Regions from separate parts of the Homo sapiens genome. Here region 1 is linked to region 2. Evidence: promoter capture Hi-C in human tissues and cell types (Jung and others, 2019). All regions are on one chromosome and are shown on one strand. Each heading gives the region's core, a stretch centred on a gene start or on the middle of the fragment in contact. The rest is flanking DNA. Distances are from core to core; before and after follow the strand shown.

Region 1 (7,466 bases), core at 4,336-6,835, 1.1 Mb before region 2:
AGGCGTGAGCCACCATGCCCGGCAGGTTGACAGCAGTGTTTCACTTCACACAAGCAGAATTATTTGTGGTATTTCAGCTGCTTTGACCAAGCCTTTTAGAGTCATTCTGGTTAATTTTGAGCATGCCATGCACATAAGAAGGATAAATACAACTTTACTAAAGTATAGAGGGGGCAAAATCATCACATTAATGTTACTGTGAACTTTCCCTTGCCTGTGAAAGACGATTATCCACTAACTGAACCAAGAAGAGTAATGGGAATGATGCAGAGTACTGTCCTCTTGCAAGGGAAGATGAGAATTTTGAAAGCGTGGCAGGGATAGGGTAAGGATAGGACAGATAGATTGGTTTACAAATGCAACCCAGCTACACTCAGAGGAGGGACGTTTTTGTCATAAGGGTCCTAATAATAGGCAAAGAAATGACTTAGGAAAGTGTCAAGCTGAGTTATATGTTAGAAATGTGTGGCCACCCATTGAGTCATCTGAAAATTTTGTTGTTCACATTAGCATTTTTTATAGTGCAGTGTTCTTTAGAGGAAATATTTTGAGGACCAAATGAACCCTCCTTCCCTTATGTATATTTACAAGTCATTTGGGAAAAAAAGAGACCACCTGAGCAGGTAGTTGGAAATTATGTTCATTTTGATGTATCTCTCAGGGTGTGTCCATCGTGGTAGAAAAGTCCCATTTAATTTACTAACTCAATTAGCCTTAATTTTTTTTCTTTTTTCTTTTTTTTTTTTGTTCTTGTTTCGTTTTGTTTTTGAGATGGAGTCTTGCTGTTGTTGCCCAGGCTGGAGTGCAGTGGCGCAATCTTGGCTCCCTGCAACCTCTGCCTCTCGGGTTCAAGCGATTCTCCTACCTCAGCCTCCTGAGTAGCTGGGATTACAGGTGCCCGCCACCCCACCCAGCTAATTTTTGTATTTTCAGTAGAGATGGAGTTTCCCCATGTTGGCCAGGCTGGTCTCGAACTCCTGACCTCAGGTGATCTGCCCCCCTCGGCCCCACAAAGTGCTGGGATTACAGGCGTGAGCCTCTGCCCCCAGCCTGTTATTGTTAATACAGACTAAAACTGACTTTCTATGGCACAGTTACCTTCAACTGATCACAACTTGAATCTCTTCGTCTATAGTTCATTGATGGTCTGGCTAATTGCAGTTTATCCTTATAACTGCTCAACGACGAGAGCATTGGCTTACATCGTAGTCTTTTTTGTTTTATAGACTTTTATTGCTTGGAGTGGTAGACATTGCTGTGGAGATACTTGGTCTACAGAGCCTCTCCTGATTTTTTAAAATGAATAAAATGGTATTACTGCAGCAACTTGTTAAGGTGATCAGGGCAGGTCTATTAGTCTATAAGACAGGACTTAGTCTATTTTAGAGATACGGAAACTTGAAGGACAGGTAAGCGAAGTGACTTATTCAAAGTCACGTTGCTAGTAAGTAGAACTGTTCCTACCTACCCCACATACTGTTAAGCTGGTGCCCTTTCTCCTGTATGTCAAGTTGTGTGGACCTCACCTTTGTGCCTTCAACTATCTTGTCTGTGGTTATAAGTACAGTAGCTTTTGCCAAAAGGAATTTATATTCTGAGATCCTTTAGAAGCTTTCTGTAACAGAGATTTGAGGCACTTTCTATATATGCCTGTTTCACTTCCCAAATATCTATAACCTCTTATACTTTTCCTGTAACCTTTAAAATTTTGATTAGGTGCTCACTGGATGGCATCACTGTTGCCCAGCTGGATAAGTTGTGTGGGATTGGAGTGGGCAGAGCCTATGATGTCAAGGAATAATGCCCCATGGGGATTCACCCCTCCTCGGAAATCTGTATTTGGTCAGCAGATGGTCTCTACTGCTTCTCCCGAGGAGGACTCACTGTCTCTGACCACCTTGTCTTCATTTCTAAGGCTTAAACATATCCTGAGGAGTACATCTAATTTTCTTTGCTGTAGTTATGTTATTTTATGATGGAGATTAGAGGAGCCTCCCTTCTGATGAGATCCAGGTCTTGACCTGATGGCATAGAGTTAATAGTACTGGCTCTTGTTCAAACTCTGATCCTGCTACTTTTTTTTTTTTTTTTTTTTGAGATGAAGTTTCGCTCTTGTCACCCAGGGTGGAGTGTGATGGCTCAATCTTGGTTCACTGCAATCTCCGCCTCCCAGGTTCAAGTGATTCTCCTGCCTCAGCCTCCTGAGTAACTGGAATTACAGGCACCCACCACCACGCCTGGTTAATTTTTGTATTTTTAGTAGAGAAGGGGTTTCACCATGTTGGCCAGGCTGGTCTCAAACTCCTGACCTCAAATGATCCACCCACCTCGGCCTCCCATAGTGTTGGGATTACAGGCATGAGCCCCTACACCCAGCCTGATCCTGCTGCTTTTTAAACTAAATGGCCTTGGGCGCACACTCTGTGACTCAGTTTAATCTTTATCTTTGAAACAGGGGTAAGTTCTTACTGCACAGGGTATTGGGAAGATTAAGCTAAATATTGTATCTTAAGCTCTTGGAAGAGTGCCTATCACAAAGAAGGCACTACTTAAATGTTAACTATTATTATTGTTACTTGGAAAAGGAAAACGCTAGAATAATAAAGCCTACTTGCTCTGAGGTGTGCACATGTGGTTTTTTGATTAATTTTTTTTATGTATGTAGGTCTTTCTTATTTCAGGCAGGATCTCAGTTTTAATAGCTGCTGTGTAGGTGGGTCACAGTTTCTTTGGATAGCCCAGCTGGTAGTTTTCTCATTTGGGAATCAAGCCATACCTTCTAAGTAGAGTGCTTTCCTGGTTCTTAACTCTTTGTGATAGAGCCCTGATGTGCCCAGGTTGCTCTGAGTAGAAGCACTTAAATCTCCCATTCTGTTGCAGCTTATGGGACTGGGCAGTGGTGTAGCTAGTGGTAGCTTTTGTGGTCACCTATGCAGCTCACTGCCTAGTGGCCATATTAACATGTTGAATTTATGTTCTCACGATAGACATTCCTAGTTCTACATAGCTCACACAGGACTGCCCTTGCTTGTAGCCTCGTTAATGTGGTTTCCTCCTCCTTGTTTCCAGCAGAAACAGCTTACGGTCTAGAAGGAGGAAAGGAAGCCAATACAACTTGATGTTAAATCATTTTCTCTTAGTTGTCCAAAGGGAGTATTTAGTGGGATGCTTCATTTGAAATGGAATTTGTCTTCTTCAAAGTGGTTGCCAAATGAAAGGATGCACTAGATGCAGAGGCCGCCTGGTGAGAAAGGAGGAGGTATAAGGTCGTCTTCTGGCCATTCTTCCAGCAAGATGTTTTGAGGGTCCTCCCAAGTACTCAACGTGGGGTTATATCAGTGAACAAAATAGAAAAATCCTTTCCTTTATGGAGCTTACAATCTAGAGACAAAGATAGAGAAAAAATAAGAAAATTCCATGGTACAGTAGGCCCTTCTTACTGCGAGTTTCCCATTTTCAGATTCAACTAACCGGGGATCAAAACCTGCCAACACGGAGGGCTGAGTGTACTATGGCATTTTATGTCAGGGACTTGAGCATCCGTGGATTTTGATACCTGCTGGGGTCCAGGAGCTAATCCCCAGTGGATATGGAGCGCCGACCATATGTTGGTGATCACCTCACACTTCTCAGAACCTTTCCACACATCCCATTTCACTCACCTTAAAAGCCAGAGTCCTTACAAGGCCTGAGGGTCCCACAGGATCTGCTGCTTACCCCATATCCCCTGCCCCCTTACCTTCTGACCTCATTGCCAGTCACTGTCTCCTTATTATCAGTGTTCTCAAGTCCCTCGGACATGCCAAGTGTGCTCCTTTTACAAATTTGAGACAGGGTCTGGCTGTATTGCCCAGGCTGGAGTGCAGTGGTGTGATCAAAGCTCACTGCAACCTCGACCTTCTGGGCTCAAGTGGTCCGTCCACCTCAGCCTCCCGAGTAGCTGGAACTATAGGCACGCACCACCACGCCCAGCTAATTAAAAAATTTTTTTATTAGTAGAGTTGGTGGTCTCACTATGTTGCCCAGGCTGATCTCGAACTTCTGGGCTCAAACAGTCCTCCCACCCCAGCCTCCCAAAGTGCTGGGATTACAGGCATGAGCCACCATGCCTAGCTAAGGCATGCTTCTCTAAGGGTCCTAACTCTGGGTACTTCCTCTGCCTGGCAGCATCTTCTTCCAGATAAATCCTATCTGCCAACTTCTCCGGTTTTTCCTTTCTAAATGTGGTCTTTTCAGTGGGCACCACTCTCACCAACCTATTTAAATTACAATCCACCACCTTCCCAGCAGTCTTGACCCCCTTTCTCAAGCTGTTTTTTTTTTCTCTGTAGTGCTTACCAATTTTTTTAACATATAATTTATTTATTTGTAAAGAAAGCTTAATAGGGGAGGGATCTTCATTTTGTTTTCTGAAGTATATTAAGGGCTCACCTAGAACGGTAATTGGCACCTCTAGTAGATATTCAGTAAACATGTTGAATGAATGAAAATGAAAAAAAGTACAATGGAAAAAATAAAGAAGGGTTGCATTAGTTTCCTGTGGCTGCTGTAACATATTAGCAAACCCTTGGTGGCTTAAAACAATAGAAATTTATGATCTCACGGTATATATTGCACATATAACTATTCATCCATCTAATATATGGAGGTGTGTGTGTATTGTATTAAAAATTGTTTTCATAAATGGAATGTGTCATGCTGCAGTTTGCATTTGTATCAAGTCAGATTGATACATATGGATCTAGTTCCTTCATTTTAACTGCAGCTCTAAGCAGCTGGTTCTCTTTCTTTCCTGGTTTCAGAATATGTAAATCCCAGAGAAGTCCTCTGATTAACCTAGCTTGGGTCCCATGCTAGCACCTGTTGGATCAGTCTGTGGCTTCAGCAGATAGGACACTCAGATTGCTCAGACCTGGAGTGCATGCTTACCCACGAATCCAGAGCATCTGGGTACTTTGTTTGCAGTTCCCCTTAGGATCATGAGTTTGAAGGAGAAAGGATTTGGGGCAAAAAACACAGATTTCTACTGAGGCTTCAAGTTTGGGCTTGGATATTACATCCTCTGGGAATCCTTTTCTGACCCCTGGGATTCTGTTCTGTGTCCTTGCACTTCCTATTCTTGTAACAGTTATCATGTAGTATCTTAATTACCCTCTCCTCTTGATGTGTACTCATTCAGGGCAGAGACTGTGTCTGTCTTGTTTTCCTTTTGTGTCTCAGGAAATAAAAGGCCTGCCACACACCATTAAGTAGATTCTCAACACATATTTTTGAATGAATGATTCCACTAGCTAGCAGAGGTTTCAAACTCACTTTCTATAAACAGGTTCCCATCCACTTCCTATGAATGCCGTAGGAATCCTGTGTAGCGTGGTGCTTTTGCACCTACTTTCAGGCCCATTAACATTCTATCTCTTTTTACATCTTTCTTTATATGAGTGGTTTGGCCCTGTTTGGAAGTTTCTTTTTCTTATTTAATGGTGAAAATTCACAGAAAGATAAAATTGGTAAAATGCAAACTCAGACTTTCTCAGTAAAGTCTTTAGAGATAAGTCCTGCCCAGCCTTTCTCACCCCAGTATACCTTTAGCTTTCATGTGTGCACAGTAGTTTCTCCTAAGCTCAAATATTCCATCAGCAGAACCTTTTTTTTTTTTTTTTTTGAGACACAGCCTCTCTCTGTTGCCCAGGCTGGACTGCAATGGCACGATCTCAGCTCACTGCAACCTCTGCCTCGTGGGTTCAAGCAATTCTGCTGCCTCAGCCTCCCGAGTAGCCGGGATTACAGGCACCCACCACTACGCCCAGCTAATTTTTGTATTTTTAGTAGAGTCGGGGTTTCACCATATTGGCCAGGCTGGTCTGGAACTTCTGACCTCAAATGATCCACCTGCCTTGGCCTCCCAAAGTGCTGGGATTACAGATGTGAGCCACCATACCTGATCTAGCAGAACATATCTTAGGCAGATTTACTTCTGGATACTTTTAGCATCAGGAGAGTATGAATTTTAGTGGATATAAAATGTGAATGAAGCTGGGTATGGTGGCTCATGCCTGTAATCCAGCGCTTTGGGAGGCTGACGTGAGAGGATCAACCTAGCCTAGTAGTTTGAGACCATCCTGGGCAACATGGCAAGACCTTGCCCCTACTTTATTATCTAAAAATATTTTTTTTAATAAAAAATAAAATGTGAATGATTTGATTTGGAAATGGTAGTGTTAGTAGTAGTACTAGTAATAGTAATAGCAGTTAACATTTATTGAGTGCTTTTTCTGTGCCAGGCATGTAGAAGTAGGTACCATCTTTATACGTGTTATACAGATGAGAAAACTGGATCTTAGATCAGTGATCTATTCAAGTTATCTCAGCTCCTGAGTGGTGGTGCTGGGCTATGAATCTGGACACTGAACTCAGAACCATACACCTAAGGACTACGTTCTACTGCCTTGTGTAATTAGGAACAGAAACCTGGGGTTTGGTAAAAGAAAAAGAGATCAGACTGATCACAGAGAAGCAGTGAAGTTTCTGCCCTAAAGCTTTGGTAAAGATAAATAGGGAGAATTAACCAAAGTTTTAGAACTGTACTCCCATTGCCTCTGTGAGGAGAGAAAACCAAGATGTGTGGAGGTGGGGCTGAAGCCATGTGCTTTAGCATAAATTGGCACTGTGTTACCTACAATATTGGGAAGAGCATTTGAGAAATACAGGGTGGTCAGTGCGTTTTCTGCTTCCCACATAAAAGTTGGTCTTTAGCCCTGAGATCCTGGCTGTGGGAGGAGTCATTTAACCAGGAAGGCATTGAACATCTGGATAAATATTTAGACATAAAATAAGTTTTACATAAAATACTTACATGAAGCAAAGCACAATGAATTTGTAAGCATTTCACTGAAACTGGGAGAGGCAGCCTGAAAAGTTTGTAGCAGACAGGCAATGGAATCTGATTCTACTGTACCATTAATTGAAGATGTGTACAAGGTCAGTGTAAAGGTCTTGTTCTTTTTCTTTATTTGTGCTATTTTAAATCAGTATATACAATGGCTTTTATATGTTCAGTTTAGATCTTAGTATCTGTCTCTTGACCGTGTATTTACTCGATAGCTCTGAATTCTCTTTCTGTCGGAGAGAATTATTCCTTATGTTTTCAGGAATAAAACTCCTGCATTGGAGGAGATTACTGATATCACTAAACCTGATGGAATAATCTATGTTCTTTCCAGCCTGTCTCCTATGCTAGGTTACTGTACATACCCTCCAGGCAGGGACATTTTCCTGCTTTTATAAAGTACTTGGCTCAAATACTAAGTACAGACATGCATCACTTAATGACAGGGATGTATCTTGAGAAATGTGTTGTTAGGCAGTTTCTTCATGGTGCAAACATCAGTGTGTACTTACACAAACCTAGATGGTGTTAGCCAACTACACACCTAGGCTATTGCTCCTAGGTTACAAACCTGTGTAGC
Region 2 (6,847 bases), core at 310-2,809:
TCCTACATGGGATATCTGTGTTTACAACCAAACTCCCAGGGGCCAAATTATATCCTTTGTAAAGGACTTCAAACCACCAGGCATTTGCTGGAAGTTTCACGGAGGAAAACAAGCATTTTTCATCTTTTAATCTGTTTTGCTGGTCAAAGAGGAAAAGGAGTGGATGGACAAAGTGGGGCCCAAAGTCTGGATCTAGTTCTGACCAACAAGGAGAAATTGATGCACAATGGGGAAGTGACCTTGGCATTTTCAACTGGCAGAGCCGGTAAGTTTGGGCACAGTTCAAATGTGAGTCTGTAGCCACTAGAGAGAGGGGTTTCAAAGTCATGGAGAAAAGATGGGGGTGAATCCTGCACCAAGACTTATTGAGGAGAGTTCTTGGGAACAGTTACTTTTAGGATTCCACAGGGAAATCACTGAGCGAGTTTTACAAAATACTGCTGCTGGGTTCCCTCCTCCAAGAGATCTTTACTTAATTGGTTTGGGGTGCAGAGTGGGAATGTGCATCTTTAAAAGCAGAATTCCCAAACTGGAGAGCTCTGTGAGAGCTTCCTGCAGGAGACATTATTTGAACTGAATTTTGAAAGACAAGCTTGCATGCCAGGAACCCCATGTATATGAACAGAGGATATGAAGGAATGTAAATAATTTGCTATGGCTCTAAAGAAAAGAAGGGAGAAATCAAGACGTGAAGAGGCTTACACTCCTTGCTCAATAGTTTCTAATTTATCTTTTTGGATAAGAGGATGTTATAAAGGATTTTAAACTGAGGTATAAAATAATTAGAATTGGAATGTTTACCTGAACTTCAGAGTAGGCAATAGGTTGGCATGGATCAGAACTGTAGGTAGGAAAATTAATTGTTTAGGAGAGACATGAGACATGATAGAGGTGACAGAGTATGGACAGGAGGAACACAAAAGTGATAGAAGTAACAGGACTGTTGATCATTTAGTTAAAAGAACTGCGGAGGGACACACCCAGGTTTCTGAGAGATGTCCAGTAGTACACAGGTAACATCTACGGCTCGAGACAGGTTAGAGATTTTGAAGAAATAAGTTAAAAGTTGAAACATGAACCTATGGATATAGTGGAGGTCATACAAGAAGATCATATTATAATGAAAAGAAGAGGGCTTAGAATGGTAGGAAAGGAATCAGGATACCAAGCAAAGGAGTCAGGAAAGAAGGGAAGGGTGCTCTGGAAATCCTGGGAAGGTCAAAGAAGAAAGGGCTAAATGTCGCCAACAAACAAAATGAAATAAGACCTGGGATGTATTTTTTGGCCAAGGCAATTAGAAAATGATTAGTATCCTTATCAGGAGCAATTTCAGAGAATGTTTGGGTGGACGTCTAACTACAGTGGAGTCAAACGTGAATCAACGGTGAAAAAAGGACAATAGCCAATGTGTACACTTTTTATAAAAACCACCCTCCAAGGACCAGGCACTGGCCCTCTCTCCGGTGCCCACAGACATCCACACAGGCCCAAAGAATCAGGGATTGCACAAGCCAGAGCAATCGAACGGTTCTGAGTCATCTGCCGGAAGCCTTGCCCTCAATCAAGGCGGACGTGAAGCATCTACAAAGGAGGAATAGTCAAAGCAGCAGCGGCGGCGGCGGCGGCGGCAGCAGCAGCAGCAGCAGGAGGTGGGGGCCTCTGCCAGGTACCGGGCGGGGCAGGCACGGAGGTGCCCAGGTTCCCGCGGAGGCCACCTCTTCCCTGGAGTGCGTGAGAGAGGGGAAGGGAGGAAGGCCAGAGCAGGAATCAGAGCGAGGCAAAGGCGGGCAGGAACTAGGAGAATGACGGCGGGAGGCGGCCGGGAAAGAGAGTCGCGGGGCTGTGGGGGTCGCCCTGGCACCAGCCGGGGTCCCAAGCCCCACCGCGAGACCCGGCGAAGGCCGAGGGCCGGGTCCCGAGAACAGGTGCGCCCAGACCCGCCCTGAATAGGAAGCTGCCCCTGGAGAGGGAGCGTCTGTTTCTAGGCTTGCGATTTGCTGCGCTGTGATTTGCTGCCGGATGGGAGCGGGGGGTGACGCGAGCAGTGAGTTTGGAAGCGCCGGAAGCTTGGGCGGGAGCCCCGGGAGGGCGAGTGGGAGGAGCCGCCGCTGCGGAGGAGGCTCCGGGAGTGCGGGTGGCGGGGCCTGGAATTTCCGTGGCGCCTGGGGCAGATCGGGGAGGCGCCGAGTCCCTGCTCCCCTGGCGCCCAAGCTTGCCCCTGTGCTTACAGCCTATTGGTTGCACCTTCTCCTTCCCTTCCTGTCCCCCCCCTCCGTTCTTTCCACCCCTGCCTTCATCTTTCTGTATCTTTCATATTCTCTTCTTCATTGTCTGCTTCCTCTCAAATGGGATGGGGTTGGGGGTGCTTCTTCACCTACGCCCCTCTCTGTTGCAGCCACCGGCGTTACTTTAACCAATTCCTCACTTTCCAGACACTCTCAGTCCTCTGGCTGCTGCTTCACTCCTGAGACCTCTCCATTCCAAAGGGCCTCACCCAGGGCTGCTCTCCGGGCCCCTCCCGCTTCCCTGCCTCGGGCTCTGCGTAGACCGCGCCCTCTTCCCTGGGTCCACTCGCAGGGGCAGACTCGTCTCCCCAGTTCTCCCAGCACACCCTGATGGCTGGGTCTCAGTCTCCGTTTCGCGCGCGCGCTCTCCCCTCGCCCTCCTCTGTCTCTTCCTTTTACTACCTCCAGATATTGGAAATTCCACAGAAATAGGTGGATTTCTTCCCTTGTGCCTCCACTAGATGTTCTGTGTAGTTTCATCCATTCTCATGGAACCTCTCGGAATCGGGATGCTGATGGCTCCAGGTCTCTGGCTCTAGACAGTCTACTCATCCCCGTCCCTAACTGTTTACAAACATCCTTGGCTGTCTTTGTTACAGGTTCACCTGGTATGGTGTGTTCCACGCATCTCAAATGGAACAAGTCATATTCCCCATTCCAGCCTGACTCCTCATTTAAAATTCCAGTGGTTCACGACCCACCCTGAGTATGAATTTATAACAGCTAGGCGCCTCGGGACTGGGCCCTCCTGTGCTCTGTCCCTATGTGAGCAGTCACTGCCTGGCAATTCCAGCCCCCACTTCTCTATTGCAGACAATCCCTCTGCTTTCAGCAGTCCCTGGCCCATGGTGGTGGCCTACGCGCCAGCTCCCCAGCCTCTTTTCATACCAAATACTGAGCCGGGTTATCTTTCTAAAGCCCCAATGCACTCATATGAGACGTTTGTTTAAAAACCATGCATGGCTTTCCAGACCATAATCTCAAGTTCAAACTCCTAAATGTGGCATAAGGGTCCGTCCTATCTCACTACCACGTGGCTCACAGGAAACCATAGAAACCCACCCCAGGGGCACCACACAAACCATGCCCTTTGTCTTCCTGCCACATTCTTGGCACCTGCTAATTCCTCAGCCTATTATTTGCATCCCCCATTTCACCACCTACGGAATGCCTGCCCGGCTTTTCTTTTTTCTTTTTTTTTTTGATATGTGGTTTTAATAAGTTTCATTACCTATTGAATAAATACAAAAGAACATTTAAAATGTGTATTGAATTATAAAGAACAGCAGTACAACCCATCACCCAGTTTAATAACTGGAATATTGTCATCGCTGGAGGCCGTGTTTCCCTACTGATCACACCCTCCTCCCTCATCACATCCGCTTCCCTCCCCTCTGTATCACCACCTTCCTGAGTTTCATGATAATAACGACATAGTTTTACTGTCTACACATGCATCCAGAATGATTTAGTTTAGCCTGGTTTTGAACTTTACGTATATGGAATAATACTGTATTACTCTGTGGCTTAATCCTTTAATACATTATTTGTGGGAATTGTCCATGTCAAAAACTAAAGAACTTATAGATATGGTTCTTTCAGTTTTTATTGTTCTGTATTCCATTATACTAATATACTACAATCCATTTATCCATTCTGTTTTTGATGGACATTTGGGTTGTTTCTTTTTTATTATTATACTTTAAGCTCTAGGGTAAAAGTGCACAATATGCAAGTTTGATACATAGGTATACATGAGCCATGTTGGTTTGCCGCACCCATCAACTAGTCATTTACATTAGGTATTTCTCCTAATGCTATTCCTCTCACATCCCCCCCGCCCACCCCACAGGCCCCGGTGTGTGATTTTCCCCACCCTATGTCCAAGTGTTTTCATTGTTCAGTTCCCACCTATGAGTGAGAACATGTGGTGTTTGGGTTTCTGTCTTTGTGGTAGTTTGCTGAGAATGATGGTTTCCAGCTTCATCCATGTCCCTACAAAGGACATGAACTCATCGTTTTTTTATGGCTGCATAGTATTCCATGGTGTATATATGCCACATTTTCTTAATCCAGTCTATCATTGATGGACATTTGGGTTGGTTCCAAGTCTTTGCTATTGTGAATAGTGCCGCAATAAACATACATGTGCATGTGTCTTTGTAGTAGCATGATTTATAATCCTTTGGGTGTATACCCAGTAATGGGGTGGCTGGGTCAAATGGTATTTCTAGTTCTAGATCCTTGAGGAATCGCCACACTGTCTTCCATAATGGTTGAACTAGTTTACAGTCCTACCAAGAGTTTAAAAGTGTTCCTTTTTCTCCACATCCTCTCCAGCACCTGTTGTTTCCTGACTTTTTAATGATCACCATTCTAACTGGTGTGAGATGGTATCTCATTGTGGTTTTGATTTGCATTTCTCTGATGACCAGTGATGATGAACGTTTTTTCACGTGTCTGTTGCCTGCATAAATGTCTTCCTTTGAGAAGTGTCTGTTCATATCCATTGCCCACTTTTTGATGGGGTTGTTTGTTTTTTTCTTGTAAATTTGTTTGAGTTCTTTGTAGATTCTGGATATTAGCCCTTTGTCAGATGGGTAGATTGCAAAAATTTTCTCCCATTCTGTAGGTTGCCTGTTTACTCTGATGGTAGTTTCTTTTGCTGTGCAGAAGCTCTTTAGTTTAATTAGATCCCATTTGTCTACTTTGGCTTTTGTTGCCATTGCTTTTGGTGTTTTAGTCATGAAGTCCTTGCCCATGGCTATGTCCTGAATGGTATTGCCTAGGTTTTCTTCTAGGGTTTTTATGGTTTTAGGTCTAACATTTAAGTCTTCAATCCATCTTGAATTAATTTTTGTATAAGGTGTAAGGAAGGGATCCAGTTTCAGCTTTCTACATATGCCAGTTTTCCCAGCACCATTTATTAAATAGGGAATCCGTTCTCCATTTCTTGTTTTTGTCCGGTTTGTCAAAGATCAGATGGTTGTAGATGTGTGGTATTATTTCTGAGGCCTCTGTTCTGCTCCATTGGTCTATATCTCTGTTTTGGTACCAGTACCATGCTGTTTTGGTTACTGAAGCCTTGTAGTGTAGTTTGAAGTCAGGTAATGTGATGCCTCCAGCTTTGTTCTTTTTGCTTAGGATTGTCTTGGCAATGTGGGCTCTTTTTTGGTTCCATATGAACTTTAAAGTAGTTTTTTCCAATTCTGTGAAGAAAGTCATTGGTAGCTTGATGGGGATGGCATTGAATCTATAAATTACCTTGGCCTGCCCAGCTTTTAAAGCCAGCTTCTCTGGAAAGTCTTTCCAGGATTCTGTAGAGGTTTTCTTCTTATTATTTATTTATTTACTTGTTTTTTTCTGAGGATTTCCATAGCACTTTCAAAATTATCCTGTTATAGAGCACCTGACTGGCTTGAAACTACGCATTTCCATATGTGTGTCTTCTTTAGGGTGTAAGCTTCTGGGCAGTGATTAACGCATTTATTTTTCATTTTCTCCTCCCAAAACAGGTAGTGAACATTCTACATAAATGCTCTTTGAATAAACTCACTTTTGGATGTTGTATGGGGATGGGGGAGTGGAGGAGGTAGTTCGTAGGTATTTGGGGCTCCCAGGAGGAGGACAATATCATATACTTGGAAACGTAAGGCTTGCTTTTGAGGCTGACTCTCACTTTTTCTGTGAGTCCTGTGGACAGTATTTAATTGCCTCTGTCTTTGTTTGTTTGCCTGAAAAGGAAAAACTAGTTTAATGCCAATTTATTTGGTTGGCTGGAAATAAAAACTTCTGATTCCTGTGTTTTTATAACACAATCTAATTGTGGCATTGGCACCTAAAGTATTATTTTGTATTAAAATTAATTGCTTTTTAGAAATATTGGGTAAAGTCCATTTTGTTTAAAGTTCCAACCCTTTCAAAAGCTATAAAGTCCAAATGAGATTGGAACACCAGGAAGACAGGGGGAAGAGTCATTCTGTTACCTGGTTTTCTCCCCTGCCTGACTTCTGACCTGAGCAGAGGCCAAGGGGGTGCACTTGTGTGTGAGTGTGTGCACATGTATTGTGGCTGCAGGGTAGATATTGATGGGAAATACCACATACTGACCAGCACCTGAGTGTTGAAAAGGAATGGAAGTGGGGACATGAGATGAAGGAAGAGGAAAGATGGAAGAAATCAGAAGTAGCAGTTTGCAACTAAGAGCAGTTAAAATGTAAAGATGAGATTGATGCAATAGTTCAGTTCATTCAGAACTATTGAAACTATTGATTCAATAGTTCAGACAGGATGATTAAACACACCTACACACACACACACACACACACACACACCCCAACCTAAGTTCATGCTTGCTTCACCCTGAGTCCAAAGCTCTTATGCTAAGGTTGGATCAAATCCAAATTTATTTGTGTCTCTGTCTTACCCAGTTTACCCAATTCTCTCCATCTTTAAGTTTCTTTGGTGCCACCTTCTGGTTGGCCCAGTTCTATGAAGTCTGAATATTCCTTCCTGCCTCCCAGTCTCTGAAATGTCCTCGAGTGAAAGATGAGGTTGTGGAG

Evidence for each region. Contacts are between HindIII fragments. The study calls those that stand out against the background at their distance.
Region 1: a fragment that was not itself captured here is called in contact with the fragment with the promoter of SERPINB8 in region 2 in 1 of the 25 tissues and cell types used here (hippocampus).

The regions. Positions count from the first base shown.
Region 1 is chr18:62,852,619-62,860,084 of GRCh38, forward strand. All of the region lies in intron 3 of PHLPP1 (PH domain and leucine rich repeat protein phosphatase 1), which reads left to right. Among named protein-coding and RNA genes, the nearest start is that of PHLPP1, 140 kb to the left of the region's middle. The HindIII fragment of the contact is 5,182 bases long and covers 2,995-7,466 here.
Region 2 is chr18:63,968,522-63,975,368 of GRCh38, forward strand. It overlaps SERPINB8 (serpin family B member 8), which reads left to right and starts at 1,560. Exons shown (of 7, transcript NM_002640.4): 1 at 1,560-1,649. It overlaps LOC105372165 (a long non-coding RNA gene), which reads right to left and starts at 1,983. Exons shown (of 3, transcript XR_935576.3): 1 at 802-1,983. It also overlaps a transcript of HMSD not described here. RefSeq lists enhancers at 1,392-1,441, 1,472-1,641, 1,934-2,228 and silencers at 1,702-1,901, 1,912-1,971, 2,042-2,261. The HindIII fragment of the contact is 6,523 bases long and covers 1-3,979 here.